Regions from separate parts of the Homo sapiens genome. Here region 1 is linked to region 2. The links are contacts of gene promoters, found by promoter capture Hi-C in blood cells and fetal thymus (Javierre and others, 2016). All regions are on one chromosome and are shown on one strand. The core of a region is centred on a gene start or on the middle of the fragment in contact, and the rest is flanking DNA. Distances in the headings are between cores, read along the strand shown.

Evidence for each region. The method cuts DNA at HindIII sites, captures the fragments that hold promoters and counts their contacts. A CHiCAGO score of 5 or more calls a contact.
Region 1: a fragment that was not itself captured here is called in contact with the fragment with the promoter of EIF3M in region 2 in 3 of 17 cell types (non-activated CD4 T cells, total CD4 T cells and activated CD4 T cells); the score reaches 5.6 in non-activated CD4 T cells.

The regions. Positions count from the first base shown.
Region 1 is chr11:33,250,162-33,256,712 of GRCh38, forward strand. It overlaps a transcript of HIPK3 not described here. Among named protein-coding and RNA genes, the nearest start is that of HIPK3, 3.9 kb to the right of the region's middle. The HindIII fragment of the contact is 3,038 bases long and covers 3,408-6,445 here.
Region 2 is chr11:32,578,438-32,585,466 of GRCh38, forward strand. It overlaps EIF3M (eukaryotic translation initiation factor 3 subunit M), which reads left to right and starts at 5,394. Exons shown (of 11, transcript NM_006360.6): 1 at 5,394-5,492. The coding sequence starts at 5,451. RefSeq lists enhancers at 5,105-5,757, 5,400-5,549 and a silencer at 5,180-5,239. The HindIII fragment of the contact is 5,112 bases long and covers 5,109-7,029 here.

The DNA of each region.
Region 1 (6,551 bases), core at 3,677-6,176, 670 kb after region 2:
TCTCCTGCCTCAGCCTCCCAAGTAGCTGGAATTACCACACTTGGCTAATTTTTGTATTTTTAGCAGAGAGAGGGTATCGCCATGTTGGCCAGGCTGGTCTCAAACTCCTTGCCTCAAGGGATCCTCCTGCCTCAGCCTCCCAAAATGCTGGGATTACAGGTGAGCCACAGTGGCTCAATTACTATTGAGTCACAATAGTTATCCTTGAGTTATTTAATAAAATAATTCAGAAAAGTTCCTGGTATATAGCAGGAACTAAACAATATTTGTGAGGTGAATGAATATCACTTAAGAATTGGATGTTCAGGCTGGGCGTGGTGGCTCATGCCTGTAATTCCAGCACTTTGGGAGGCTGAGGTGGGTAAATCACCTGAGGTCAGGAGTTCAAGACCAGCCTGGCCAACATGGTGAAACCCCGTCTCTACTAAAAAATACAAAAATTAGCTGGGCATGGTGGCTCCTGCTGGTAATCCCAGCTACTCAGGAAGCAGCGGCAGGAGAATCACTTGGATCCAGGAGGCAGAGGTTGTAGTGAGCCGAGATGGTGCCATTGCACTCCAGCCTGGGTGACAAGAGTGAAACGCTGTCACACACACACACACAAGAATTGGATGTTCAATCAAAGCTTTTTGGAAGGGTGAACATTTAACTTTGACTTTGAAGAATGGCTACTGGGCATGGAGAAATAAGGGTTAGAGTTGGGGAAAGGGAAAAGAACTCTTTGGTGGGATCATACGGAAGTACAGGAAAAATGGCTAAAAGGTTTTATGGGATCCAACTGTAATGTGCCTCAACAGCCAAACTAAAACACAGGGACATTTTCAGTAGGTAAAACAATAGTCCTAAGGTTTGTGAGCAGGGAAATGTTGAGATGAAAAAAAGATTGAAGGCTTACTTGCCTTGTTTTGCATTACCTTAGTTTAAACATTTTTTAAAATATAAAACTGATGTTAGTTCATTATATTGCATTTTAAGTTCCTTTAACTTCTGAGAACTAAATACAGCAGCTCTGGAGAGAAAGAACAATGTAAATGGTGTGAGTGCTGGCAGGACTTTCCATTCAAGTTGCTGAAGCACGTGGGCAATGATTCAATCAAATCTGAAAGGTGCATTTTGGCAAAAACCTATGGAGATAATGTGCCAAGTACTTTAATGATTCCCCAACCACAGAGAGATTATTTGGGTGTCAGATGGGGTGACATGCTAGTGTATTCATTATCCTGGAGGAAGAAATTGAATGATTAATTGAGGGCTCTAGCAAAACTTTGACAAAGAGGGTGATTACTAGACTGTATATAAAGAAGATGATCAGCCTGGGCAACATGGTGAAACCCTATCTCTACAAAATGTACAAAAATTTGCCAGGTGTGGTGGCACATGCCTCTATTCCCAGCTGCTCGGGAGGCTGAGGCAGAAGAGTCACTTGAGCCTGGAAAGTCGAGGCTGCAGCCAGCTGTGATTGTGCCACTGCCCTCTAGCCTGGGCGATGGAGCAAGACCCTGACAAAAAAAAAAAAAAAAAAAAAAAAAAAAAAAAAAAAAAAAAAAAAAAAACAGAAAGAACAGAAAGAAACTGAAAAAGCTAACCAGTTATTATAATCTTCATAAAATTTCTGAAGTGCTCCAAGAGGTGAAACGTGAAAATTTAATTTATGACTAACTATAAGTAACATATCATTAATATAGACATATAAGTAACATATCATTAATATAGACATGTTCAGGTTGTATATACAAAACAATGTATATTATGCTTTATGGGTAATTGAGGTAATTTTCAAGGATTAATTTTACTATGTGAGATTTTTGCCTTGCGCTGACTGTAGTACCTAACTCCCAGATAAAGATGAGATTGTGAACTTCTAAAAATATGAGTGTTTTATCTGTAAAATTTAGTGGAAACAGTTTCTTTCTTCTTTTTTTTTCAGAAGGAGAAACAAATCTTTGGGCTGCAAAGAGTTACTTGACTGGGCTTTTTGGTTATGCAGAGTGGTAGGAGTGGCACACTCCTGAATGGATTTTTTTTTTTTTTTTCCATTCCAGTTGCCCCTTCCTGAGGCTCGGGTATACAAAGCTGATCTCCAGGAAGAAGACAGATTATTTATATAAGAAAGCCAGGACTGCCGGGCGTGGTGGCTCACACCTGTAATCCCAGCACTTTGGGAGGCTGGGGTGGGCGGATCACCTGAGGTCAGGAGTTGGAGACCAGTCTGATCAACACGGTGAAACCCTGTCTCTCCTAAAAACGCATAAATTAGCCGGGCGTGTTGGTGCACGCCTGTAATCCCAGCTACTCGGGAGGCTGAGGCAGGAGAACCGCTTGAACCCGGGAGGCAGAGGTTTCGCTTGAACCCGGGAGGCAGAGGTTTCGGTGAGCTGAGATCGAGCTATTGCACTCCAGCCTGGGCAACAAGAGCGAAACTCCACCTCAAAAAAAAAAAAAAAAAAAGCCAGGACCTCCTGGGAGGGAGGAGACAGAAGTCCCCTTGGTGAACCTCTCCTCCTTGATATTAGTAACTAGGGGGCTATTTTTGGTTGACAGGGTACCTCCTATTCTCCCAAGGTGTAATGGTAAGAAAGGATACCCAAGGACTAGAGAAAAAAACAAAAACAAAACAACAACCAACTTCCCTGAGGAAGGGGAGTGTGGATTGGTGACTCAGGCTCTGAAAAAGTTCCCAGCTTTTTCTTGAAACTGCATGGCTTTGGACAGAAGCGTCGGCATCATTTGTGGAGACTGCGGAGGGCCATCTCTTCACAGGAACACCTATATGTGGTTTAACGAGGAGCAATGGCAGCGAAGAACACAAGGTGAGTGCGAGGAGGACTGGCCTCCTTTGGGAAGAGTAATGTTATTTTTATTTATTTATTTTTTTAGGCAGAGTCTCATTCTGTCACCCAGGCTGGAGTGCAGTGGTGTGATCTCGGCTCACTGCAACCTCTGCCTCCCAGATTCAAGCTATTCTCATGCCTCGGCCTCCCGAGTAGCTGGGATTACAGGTGTGTGCCACCACATCCAGCTAATTTTTGTATTTTTAGTAGAGACGGGGTTTCACCATGTTGGCTAGGTTGATCTCGAACTCCTGACCTCAGGTGGTCCACTCGCTTTGGCCTTACAAAGTGCTGCGATTACAGGCATGAGCCACCACGCCTGGCCTGGGCAGAGTAATTTTTGGAGGTAGAGGTGGGAGGAATAGCTGAGAGAGAGGGCTTGGATTTCATGGCTAGGTGATCTCAAACAATTGTGACTGCTCGCAGTCTGAGTTTATGGAGGGTTTCTTACTGATTCCATAGAAAATTTATTTTTTCACTTTACAAATATTTGAGTTCCCTTTACATGCAAGGCCCTGTTCTAGGCTCTGGGGATCAAAGCATCAAGAAAACAGACAAAAATTCTTGCCCTGTGAAAGCTTACCTTGAGGGACAAGGGAACAGAAAATATATATCATAGTATCTAAGATGATGGCAAGCCCTAAAGAGAAAGATAAAGACAGGGAATGTAAATATAGGTGGTCATCGCTGAAGAGGAGGCTTCACCATGAAGGCAATATTTGAGTAAGGACAGGAAAGAAAGGTGGATGGCTATACTTGAGGAATGTTTCAGGCAGAAGGTGATCCAGGCACCTACGGAGCTCCAGAGAGTGGCTGGAGTAAGGAGACAAAAAGTTGATTGAGTTCCTTGTGGGCTAGTTCTGTGAAGGATTTTATTTGTTTATTTACTTACTTACTTACTCAGAGACAGGGTCTTACTCTGTCGCCCAGGCTGGAGTGCAGTGGTGTGATCACAACTCACTGCAGCCTCAGGGCCCATCTCAGCCTCCCGAGTAGCTGGGACTACAGGCGTGCACCACCAGGCCAGGCTAGTTTTTGTATTTTTTGTAGAGAGAGAGGGGTTTTTGAAGAGGCTAGGTCTTGCTCAGTGATAGAATTACAGGTGTGAGCCACCAAGTCTGGCCCTTAAGTAATTTTTTTGAATGAAAACATTAAGGTTTTCTTTAGTATCTTCCTGTTTTATTTTTTAGAGGCAAGATCTTGCTCTGTCACTTAGCCTGGAGTGCAGTGGCGAAATCACAGCTCACTGCAGCCTGGAACTCATGGGCTCAAGCAATCCCCCAACCTCAGCTTCCCAAAGTGCTGGGATTACAGATGTGAGCTACCATGCCCTCCCCCAGCCTGCATTTTTGAGAGATCTTAGCACTATGAGAAATTTTCCTTAAAAAAAAAAAACAACCCTCAAACTTTGTAAAATAGCTACATTAGGGGCTTTGGGAGATTATCTAGATGTTTGTGTTCAGAATAGATTTGAAAGCCAGGCGCAGTGGCTCACACCTGAAATCCCAGCACTTTTGGGAGGCTGAGGTGGGCGGATCACTTGAGGCCAGGAGTTCCAGACCAGTCTGGCCAACATAATGAAACCGCATCTCCATACTAAAAATAAAAAAAAAATAGCTGGCTGTGGTGGTGCGTGTCTGTAATCCCAGTTAGGTGGGAGGCTGAGGTGGATGGATCCCTTGAGCCCAGGGAGTTGAGGCTGTGGTGAATGGAGATCACACCACTGTGCTCCAGCCTGGGTGACAAAATTAGACTCTGTCAGGTCAGGAGATCAAGACCATCCTGGCTAACATGGTGAAACCCCATCTCTACTACAAATACAAAAAATTAGCTGGGCGTGGTGGCACGGGCCTGTAGTCCCAGCTACTTGGGAGGCTGAGGCAGGAGAATCGCCTGAACCTGGGAGGCGGAAGTTGCAGTCCCAGCTACTTGGGAGGCTGAGGCAGGAGAATCGCCTGAACCTGGGAGGCAGAGGAGCTGATATCGTGCCTCAAAAAAAGAAAGATTTGAAGGGGAAGAGATTAGAGGTAAAGAAATTAGGTTAGGAGACAATAGGTATAAAGTGAAGGGGGGCTGGAATATATCATTTACTTATTTTGCAACATTTACTAAGGTCTTACCACAAGTCAGGCACTGTATTAGGCACTTGCAATATAATGGTTAAAAAAAAAGATGAGGCCGGGCGTGGTGGCTCATGCCTGTAATCCCAACACTTTGGGAGGCTGAGGTGGACAGAGCACGAGGTCAAGGGATCGAGACCATCCTGGCCAACATGGTAAAACCCCGTCTCTGCTAAAAGTACAAAAATTAGCTGGGTATGGTGGGGCATGCCTGTAGTCTCAGCTATTCGGGAGGCTGAAGCAGGAGAATTGCTTGAACCCTGGCAATAGAGCGAGACTTCATCTAAAAAAAAAAAAAGATGAATGAATCCCCTCCTGGAATATATAGTGTAGTGAGTAGCAACATGCAGGAGATAGAAAGGAAAATAAATCCTTGTCTCTCATTTCCATCTCTTCATGGATGTAGCAAATACAGGGAATGGAAGCCTTCCATTAGAGATGGCCTCCTTAAATGTCTGCAAAAATTCTGAAATTTGAAGTTCTAGTGGAATAGTTTCTCTGTTCCTCCTGACAGATTTTTCTACTATTGTAGCTTTCTCCGTTGAGTAAATGATTTTATCCTCTTTGATTCTTTTGACTATTGTTCTTAAGAAAAATAAAAAGTAACGAAATACTAAGTGAAAAGGAATGGTTCATAGGCTATCTCTCTGAAAGGCAGCCATTGTTTTGTTCTTCTATATTGGAAGCCTTTTCAGCTGGTTATCCTCTCTAACCTGAAAACAACTGTCATTCGAAAGTGTTATTTCCAGTGGCCTCAGGGCATACTATCCTTTCTCTTTTATTTTATTTTTTGAGACAGAGTCTCTCCCTGTCGCCCAGGTTGGAGTGCAGTGGCTCAAGCGATTCAAGCGATTCTCTTACCTCAGCTCTCGAGTAGCTGGGATTACAGGCGCCCGCCACCACGCCCAGCTAATTTTTGCATTTTTAGTAGAGACCAGGTTTCACTATGTTGGCCAGGCTGGTCTTGAACTCCTGACCACAGGTGATCCACCCGCCTCAGCCTCCCAAAGTGCTGGGATTACATGTGCGAGCCACCGCGCCCGGCCTCCTTTGTCTCTTAAAGGCATTATCCAAAATACTCATCTTCCGGTTTGAAGAGCAGCAGGGATTAAATGTGTATTATGTATGCAGCAATTTGCCACTCCCTTTGCCCTGCCCCAGTTACTGCAATAGAAAATTTCTGGGAATAAATACATCTCTGGTAAATTCAATCTTGCTAGTGAAGATTATGAAGGAAACAAAGAAAGGACACTTCCATTCCAGAAAGGTGTTTGTTTCCCAAAAGGTTAGACATTGATTCAGAACAAAGGGAACCTGAGGAAACGGGTATAAAAGAAAATCAACTCTGAATGTGAGGTATTAGAAAGCCATTTGTTTCCTAGGGAAAAGGAGGAAAGATGGGGTGGGAGACATGGGCTTTACTGTATAACCTTGGTCATGTCACCTAAACTTCTTGGAACTCCTGAGTGTAAGAGTTGGGACCAAGGATCGCAAAGCTTCTTTCATTCCTAAAATTCTATGGTTCCACGATTATGTAAGCTGAAACAGGCCATTCTGTTGATTTCCTAATCTCCAGGAGGAAAGAAACTAGTCTTTGGGA
Region 2 (7,029 bases), core at 4,144-6,643:
AAATTTATGAATGTTTCAATAAATGCTTATATCACGTGAAGTGAGGAGGTTAACCTCATGAATTTTAATACGAAGACTAATGTAAAAATGAATGCTTTCTAATGGTCAAAGTGTTTGAGATTTAAGGTGCTGCATGAGTTCTACTGCTGGATCTACTGCTCAGGTGCAATATATTTCAGTAAGTCACCAATCAACTGCCTTAAATATCCTTTGTTTCACCTATAAAGTCAGTGCAATCATATGTTGCATCGCTAGTATACAATTTAATTATTAGCTATAAATCTCTGAGATCCTAAGATGGTAGCTTTGTAAATTCAATGTTACATTGCAACAGCATTAAGAGAGATTCCAAGATTCCCACCATCAATATGCATTATACAAATTTGTTAACTTGCACTAACATAAACCTTTTATTTACAAAATTATGACTTTAGACTTCAAACTTTTTTCTCTGTGTCAATCAAGATTAGTTTCGTCTGTATACAAGAAAAAAACAATATAATAGTGCATTAAACAAGATGGAGGTTTATTTTCCTCTTATGTAAAATAAATTCATGGGTAGGCCGTCATGGGCTGGCATCACACTCTCCTAATGTCATCAGGGATATGGGCTCCTTCCGTCTTTCCTCTCCACCACATGGCTTCCACCAAGGCCACGTCTTGGTTTTAGTTTGGTTGCTGTAGCACCCACCATCAAGTCCATGTTTTAGGCAAAAAAAAAAAAAAAAGTGGAGGGTGGCGGTGGGGGGCAAGGGCAAAAGAGTCAGTTCCAAGAAAGAGCTTTGCCAGAAGCTGCTCTCAAAATTTCCATCCACATCTCACCAGCTACACCTAGCTATAAGAAAGCTTATCAATTTCGTATCATAGAAGGGTGCATTGTGGCACCTACAACTACACCTTAGTTCTGCTGCTAAGGAATAAGAGGGCGGATGTCAGGTTGACAGTCTTTGCCATGCTTAAAAAAAATCTTTTCCATGGGTTCCTAGAATGTTGTGATCACTCATTTTGATTCAAAATTAAAATTTTTTTCATTCAAAATTAAAATTTAAAGCAATTTTCAAAGATTTGTCGCAAATCTATCTAGCGAGTTAACATTTAGAGTATCATTCACTAATACAACAAATACTTATTGCACCATCTATCAGGCACGTTGATAAAAAAGGGATGGGATGCAATAATGAACACATCCCCACTTTTTCAGAGCTCATAGTTCATCAACTCAGTAAAAGTATGATGTGCTAATATACTATAAATGACACCTATTTAGAATGGATTACCCTCTATACATAGTCTTAGTATTTAGGTAATCAACTACATATACTATTTTTTTTTTTCTGAGACAGTCTTGCTCTTGTCGTCCATGCTGGAGTGCAGTGGCGCGATCTCAGCTCACTGCAACCTCCCCCTCCCGGGTTCAAGCGATTCTCCTGCCTCAGCCTCCCAAGTAGCTGGGATTACAGGTACCCACCATCAAACCCAGCTAATTTTTGTATTCTTAGTGGAGATGGGGGCCAGGCTGGTCTTGATCGAACTCCTGACCTCAGGTGATCTGCCTGCCTCAGCCTCCCAAAGTGCTGAGATTACAGACATGAGCCACCGCACCTGGCCACATATACTATTTTAGCATAAAAATATACTTTCGTTTATCAGATGAATAATTGCCTCATTCTGAGATGCTGATACAGACTTGAAAACAAATTTTAGATATTACTGTCATGCAAAGCATTCTTGTAAAAAATATAACTTTGCTCCAATAATACAATTTCAAGCAAATATATTAATATGGCTCTTGCAAATAGAATACTTAAAAACATAGTTAAATCCACATTTTCCGGAATTTTTAATCAGAAAGGAGATAACAAAGGGAACATAGACAAATTAAACAATAAAGAAAAACTGTACATATTTGGTTGTATTTTTCAGGTAAAAATTAAACTAAGATAATACTGCCTTGCAGATGGTGGGGCTTTGTTCAACTCCCTGGTGATTCCTTTTCCTTTTTTTTTTTTTTTTTTGGAGTCTCACTCTGTCGCCCAAGCTGGAGTGCAGTGGCGTGATCTCAGCTCACTACAACCTCCACCTCCTGAGTTCAAGTGATTCTCCTGCCTCAGCCTACCAGGTCCCAGCTAATTTTTGTATTTTCAGTAGAGACAGGGTTTCACCATGTTGGCCAGACTGGCCTGGAACTCCTGGCCTCAAGTGATCCACCTGCCTTGGACTCCCAAAGTGCTGGGATTACAGGCATGAGCCACCGCACCAGCCAAGCTTTTAAAGAATTAAAGTTAGTTTTATTCAGAGGTCTTACCGAGGATTGCAACCCAGAGAGTCTTCCAGAGAGTTTCTGTTAAACTGCTCCAAAGCAGTGTTTCCGCACACAGTTTGTGTACATCAGTGGTGGCTCTGCCTGTGCTCAGAAGTTACATTAAATGTGCTCAGAAGTTACATTAGAGCGAAATCACATCATGGTTTGGGTGCCAGGGTCCATCTGGTTATAGATTATGGAGACATAATCATTATTGCTGTCAGACATGGGTGTGCATTATACCCATGCACATGAAGAGGCAGAGGCTAGGATCATTGAACTTATGTTTTCTAAAACTGCAGTGATTCAGGCAAGAGAATGGGGACCTGTGCTCTATCCTGTTTATCTTTAGGGTATTCTTCCAGAGGGTTGCCCTCACTCACTGAGTCAGGGGCTTTGCGAAATTCTCTGGCAAACAGAATGAGCAAACATTCCTTCTTAGGTTTGCTACTTTGTCTCACAAGATTCATCCTGACCTAGGTGAGGACAGGCATTTCCTACTCAAATGTTGCATTTCCCAAGACTACTCGGGCCTACCACACCTCCATCCTGTGTGTGTGTGTGTGTGTGTGTGTGTGTGTTTATTTTGAATGAATGAAAGTTTAAAGTTTTAAATAACTGAGGACAGGCATTTCCGCATTTCCTACTCAAATGTTGCATTTCCCAAGACTACTCGGGCCTACCACACCTCCATCGTGTGTGTGTGTGTGTGTGTGTGTGTGTGTGTGTGTGTGTGTTTATTTTGAATGAATGAAAGTTTAAAGTTTTAAATAACTGTCCATATCCTCTCTCAAGAATTTCCCTGGGTGTTCTTTTACTTCACAAGGATCACAGAATGAAAAAAAAAATAACAATAGTAAAAAAGAGACAAGTCTTTTAAATATTTGATAAAATGGTATTGTATTGTTGAGTTTGTATTCCTCGAACTTTGCAATAATAAGGCGAGGGGAGGAGCCCAGGGATTATTCCTTCAGAATCAACTGGTATTTCCTGATGATCTGCTGTGGGCTGGGCACTGAGGTGGGTGCGGAAATGCAGGGTGAACATGACACAGGTTCCCTGCCTTCAGTTTCACTTTCCACATTGTTAAGGCTATTCCATGCAAGAATGAATCCTTTCAAATTTAGTCTAGCCAGATGTTTTGTGTCCTCTATCCCCTCAACCTTGTTTTTTTCCTTTGCTTGGCATTTATTTTATATTGAAGTATAATTGTGGTATCAATAAACTGCACATTTTTGAACTGCACACTTTGAAAAATGTTATATATGTATACAATCATGACACAATCACAGTCAAAATAATGAACACATCCATAACCCCCAAAAACTTCCTCAAGCCCCTCTGTATCCATCTTTCCCCCCGCCTTACCCAATCCCTGCCCCCAGGCAACAGCAATCTATAATGCTGTCATTATAGTTTCTACTTTCTAGAGTTTTATATAAATGGAATCATACAGTATGATGATTAACTGAACAAAATTATTTTGAATTATTTTGGGATTGTCAACTAAAGAAAAAAAATCAAGCTTTTATTTTAAGAGATGGAGTCTCACTCACTTTGTCACCCAGGCTGAAGAGACTGAAAAAAAAAAAAGATTCATCTGTGTTTTTGCATGTATCAATAATTCATCCTTTTTTGTTGCACAGCAGTATTCCATTAAGCAGATGTATAACAATTTTTTGATCCACTTCATTCATCTATTGATGAACATTTGGGTTGTTTCCTTTTTTTTGGCTATTGAAAATAAAGTGTTAACTTTTTGGAAACTGTCTCCTGAAAAAGCTAAACATAAATTTACTAAATAAGCCACTGATTCCTCTCATAGGTACATACCTAAGAGAAATATACGTACACACAAAATCTTGTGCACTAACGTTCATGGAAACATTATTCATAATAGCCAAAAAATGGAGACAACCCAAGTGTCCACCAACTGATGAACAAATCAACACAATGTGGTATATCCATAACAATGCAATATTATAAGCAATAAATAGGAATATAGGAGGGATACATGGACGAACCTTGAAAACATTATGCTAAATGAAGTAAGTCTGACTTAGGCCACCGTGTATTTTGTGATTCCACTTACATGAAATGTCCAGAAAAGGCAAATTCATAGAGACAAAATGTAGTGTTTGCCAGGGGCTGGAGAGAGGTGGGGCCGGGGGTCTGGGGAGTGATTGCTGATGGGTAGTTTCTTTTGTAGGTGATGAAAATGTTCTAAAATTAAATAGTAGTGATGGTTGTGCAACTCTGAAAATACTAAAAACTACTGAATTGTGTATTTATTTTATGAGACGGAGTCTCGCTCTGTCGCCCAGGCTGGAATGCAGTGGCATGATCTGGGCTTACTGCAACCTCCTTCTCCCAGGTTGAAGTGATTCTCCTGCCTCAGCCTCCCGAGTAGCTGGGATTACAGGCGCGCACCACTATGCCCCGGTAATTTTTGTATTTTTAGTAGAGACGGGGTTTTGCCATGTTGCCCAGGCTGGTCTCCAGTTCCTGACCCCAAGTGATCCGCCCACCTCGGCCTCCCACAGTGCTGGGATTACAGGCGTGAGATCCACTGCGCCCAGCCAAAGCTGCTATTTTTTAAAAGCGGCAATGAACATTCTTGTACAAGTCTTTGTACGGACATACAGTTTGGGTAGAAGAATAGCTGGGTCATATGCTGGGTGGATACTGAACTTTTTCAGAAACTGCCGCTCCTCTGCAAAGTGACTGCACCATTTTATGTTCCCAACAGCAGTACAGGAGAGTTTCAGGTCTACACAAACCCATCCATACTTGGTAAGACCCAACAAGCTTAACATTTCAAGGGAAGGTGGACTTAGGGAGGCGCCAGCGGGAGGCAACATCAATGCAGTTAGCTACACGGGCCTGAAAACTGGAGGCCGCGACAAGCGTCGCTGAGTGGAGGCCCAGTAAGTCCCACCCACTAGGCCAGCCCGAGCGCGTCTGCCACGCCCTGCTGCATTCCGCGGCGAGAGCGCGCGATAGGATTGGCTCTCAAGGCCCCGCCCCAACAGGTCGCCGCTCAGGGTGACCCGGAAGCAGTTGCGCCAGCAGCGTCGCGCGGCCCAGTTCCCTTTTCCGGTCGGCGTGGTCTTGCGAGTGGAGTGTCCGCTGTGCCCGGGCCTGCACCATGAGCGTCCCGGCCTTCATCGACATCAGTGAAGAAGATCAGGTGTGCTTCGGTCTACGGGTGCCGCCACGGTGGGGTGGGGGATGTCCTAGTAGCGCAAGGGACCGCTGCCGAGCCTGGGCCGGGCGGCCGGGGCTGACACCCGCAGCTGTTCTACACGCGAGAATGGGGAGGCCGGTGGCTGGGGCGCGCGTTCCTGGCCTCGATTCGCACCAGCTCGCCGGCCGGCGGTCCCAGCGCGGGGCCCGACGCTTCACCGCCAGCTCCCTGGTCGGCGTCGGGACTCATTTCTGACGACATAGTACTTTTAGACTGATGAGGAATGATGTCTGCTTCCGTCCGTCAAATGCAGCCACATTCGGAGTGGGAGGTGGTGAATCTGTAGTTAGCATAAGCAGGGTAGGGAAAAGTAATTTTGTGCTAAAGATCAAAATGCCGGGCCGGGCGCGGTGGCTCACGCCTTTAATCCCAGCACTTTGGGACGCCGAGGCGGGCAGATCACGAGGTCAGGAGATCGAGACCATCCTGGCTAACACGGTGAAACCCTGTCTCTATTAAAAATACAAAAAAATTACCCGGGCGCGGTGGCACGCGCCTGTAGTCCCAGCTACTGCCGAGGCTGAGGCAAGAGAATCGCTTGAACCCGCGAGGCGGAGTTTGCAGTGAGCCAAGATCGCGCCACTGCACTCCAGCCTGGGCGACAGAGCGAGAGTCCCTCTCAAAAAAAAAAAAAAAAAAAAAGATCAAAACGCCCGTATTACTGTGCGATCACAGGCGAAGACGACCCGTATTTTACACTTGCTTTCTATTCCTACTTGTATGAGGGTGAGAGTTGTTCTGTACCCCGGAAGTATGGTATCAGTTCAGCTCTTAAATTCTGTGAGGCATACACCTGATGGACCATCCTGATATTTTTAAATTTCCCGTTTGGCGTTTGCTCTTTGGTATACAGGGCTGATGGTTCTCATTTTCCCCATAACAAAAGTTTAACCTTATTTGGTAGGAGTTGAACACGACATCGTATTCTTTAAGTTAATTTTGTATTGCTGAAAATTCTTCTGTGAAGTCCTAACTTTGTCGTTTTATTTCTGTTACTCCACTAACACGGAAGTAACTTCCAAATGATTGGATATCATAAACTTCGCATGGAAGTTTACTTGTCTAAGACAACTTACAGAATTGCGGGAGTGAGTTCCCCCTCTCTCCTCCCCCCGCCCCATGGTAGGAATGCAGTTCCGATGCTCTGAAGAGCAAAGTAAGAAGGGAAAATGCAAAAGGCGGAGAAAAGGTCAAGGATGGGGAGGTTAAGCACAGATAGGAAGATATGAAAGACAAAAAGATACCTGATTAGAAATGGAAGCATGTTACCAACAGTTGGCTGTTAGGTTAACTGAGAAAGTGTTTGGAATTTTTTTTTTTTTAACATACAAAGTGAATGGAGGAAGTTCTTGTCATTGATCGTATCTTAAAGTGTCTTTTCTCAGGCTCTGCTTCTGTTCTTGTAACATCAGTATCGCTGTAGACAGTCCTTTCAGGGAAATATGAAATTGCTCAGGATTAGTTTAACTTTGGTGAAATT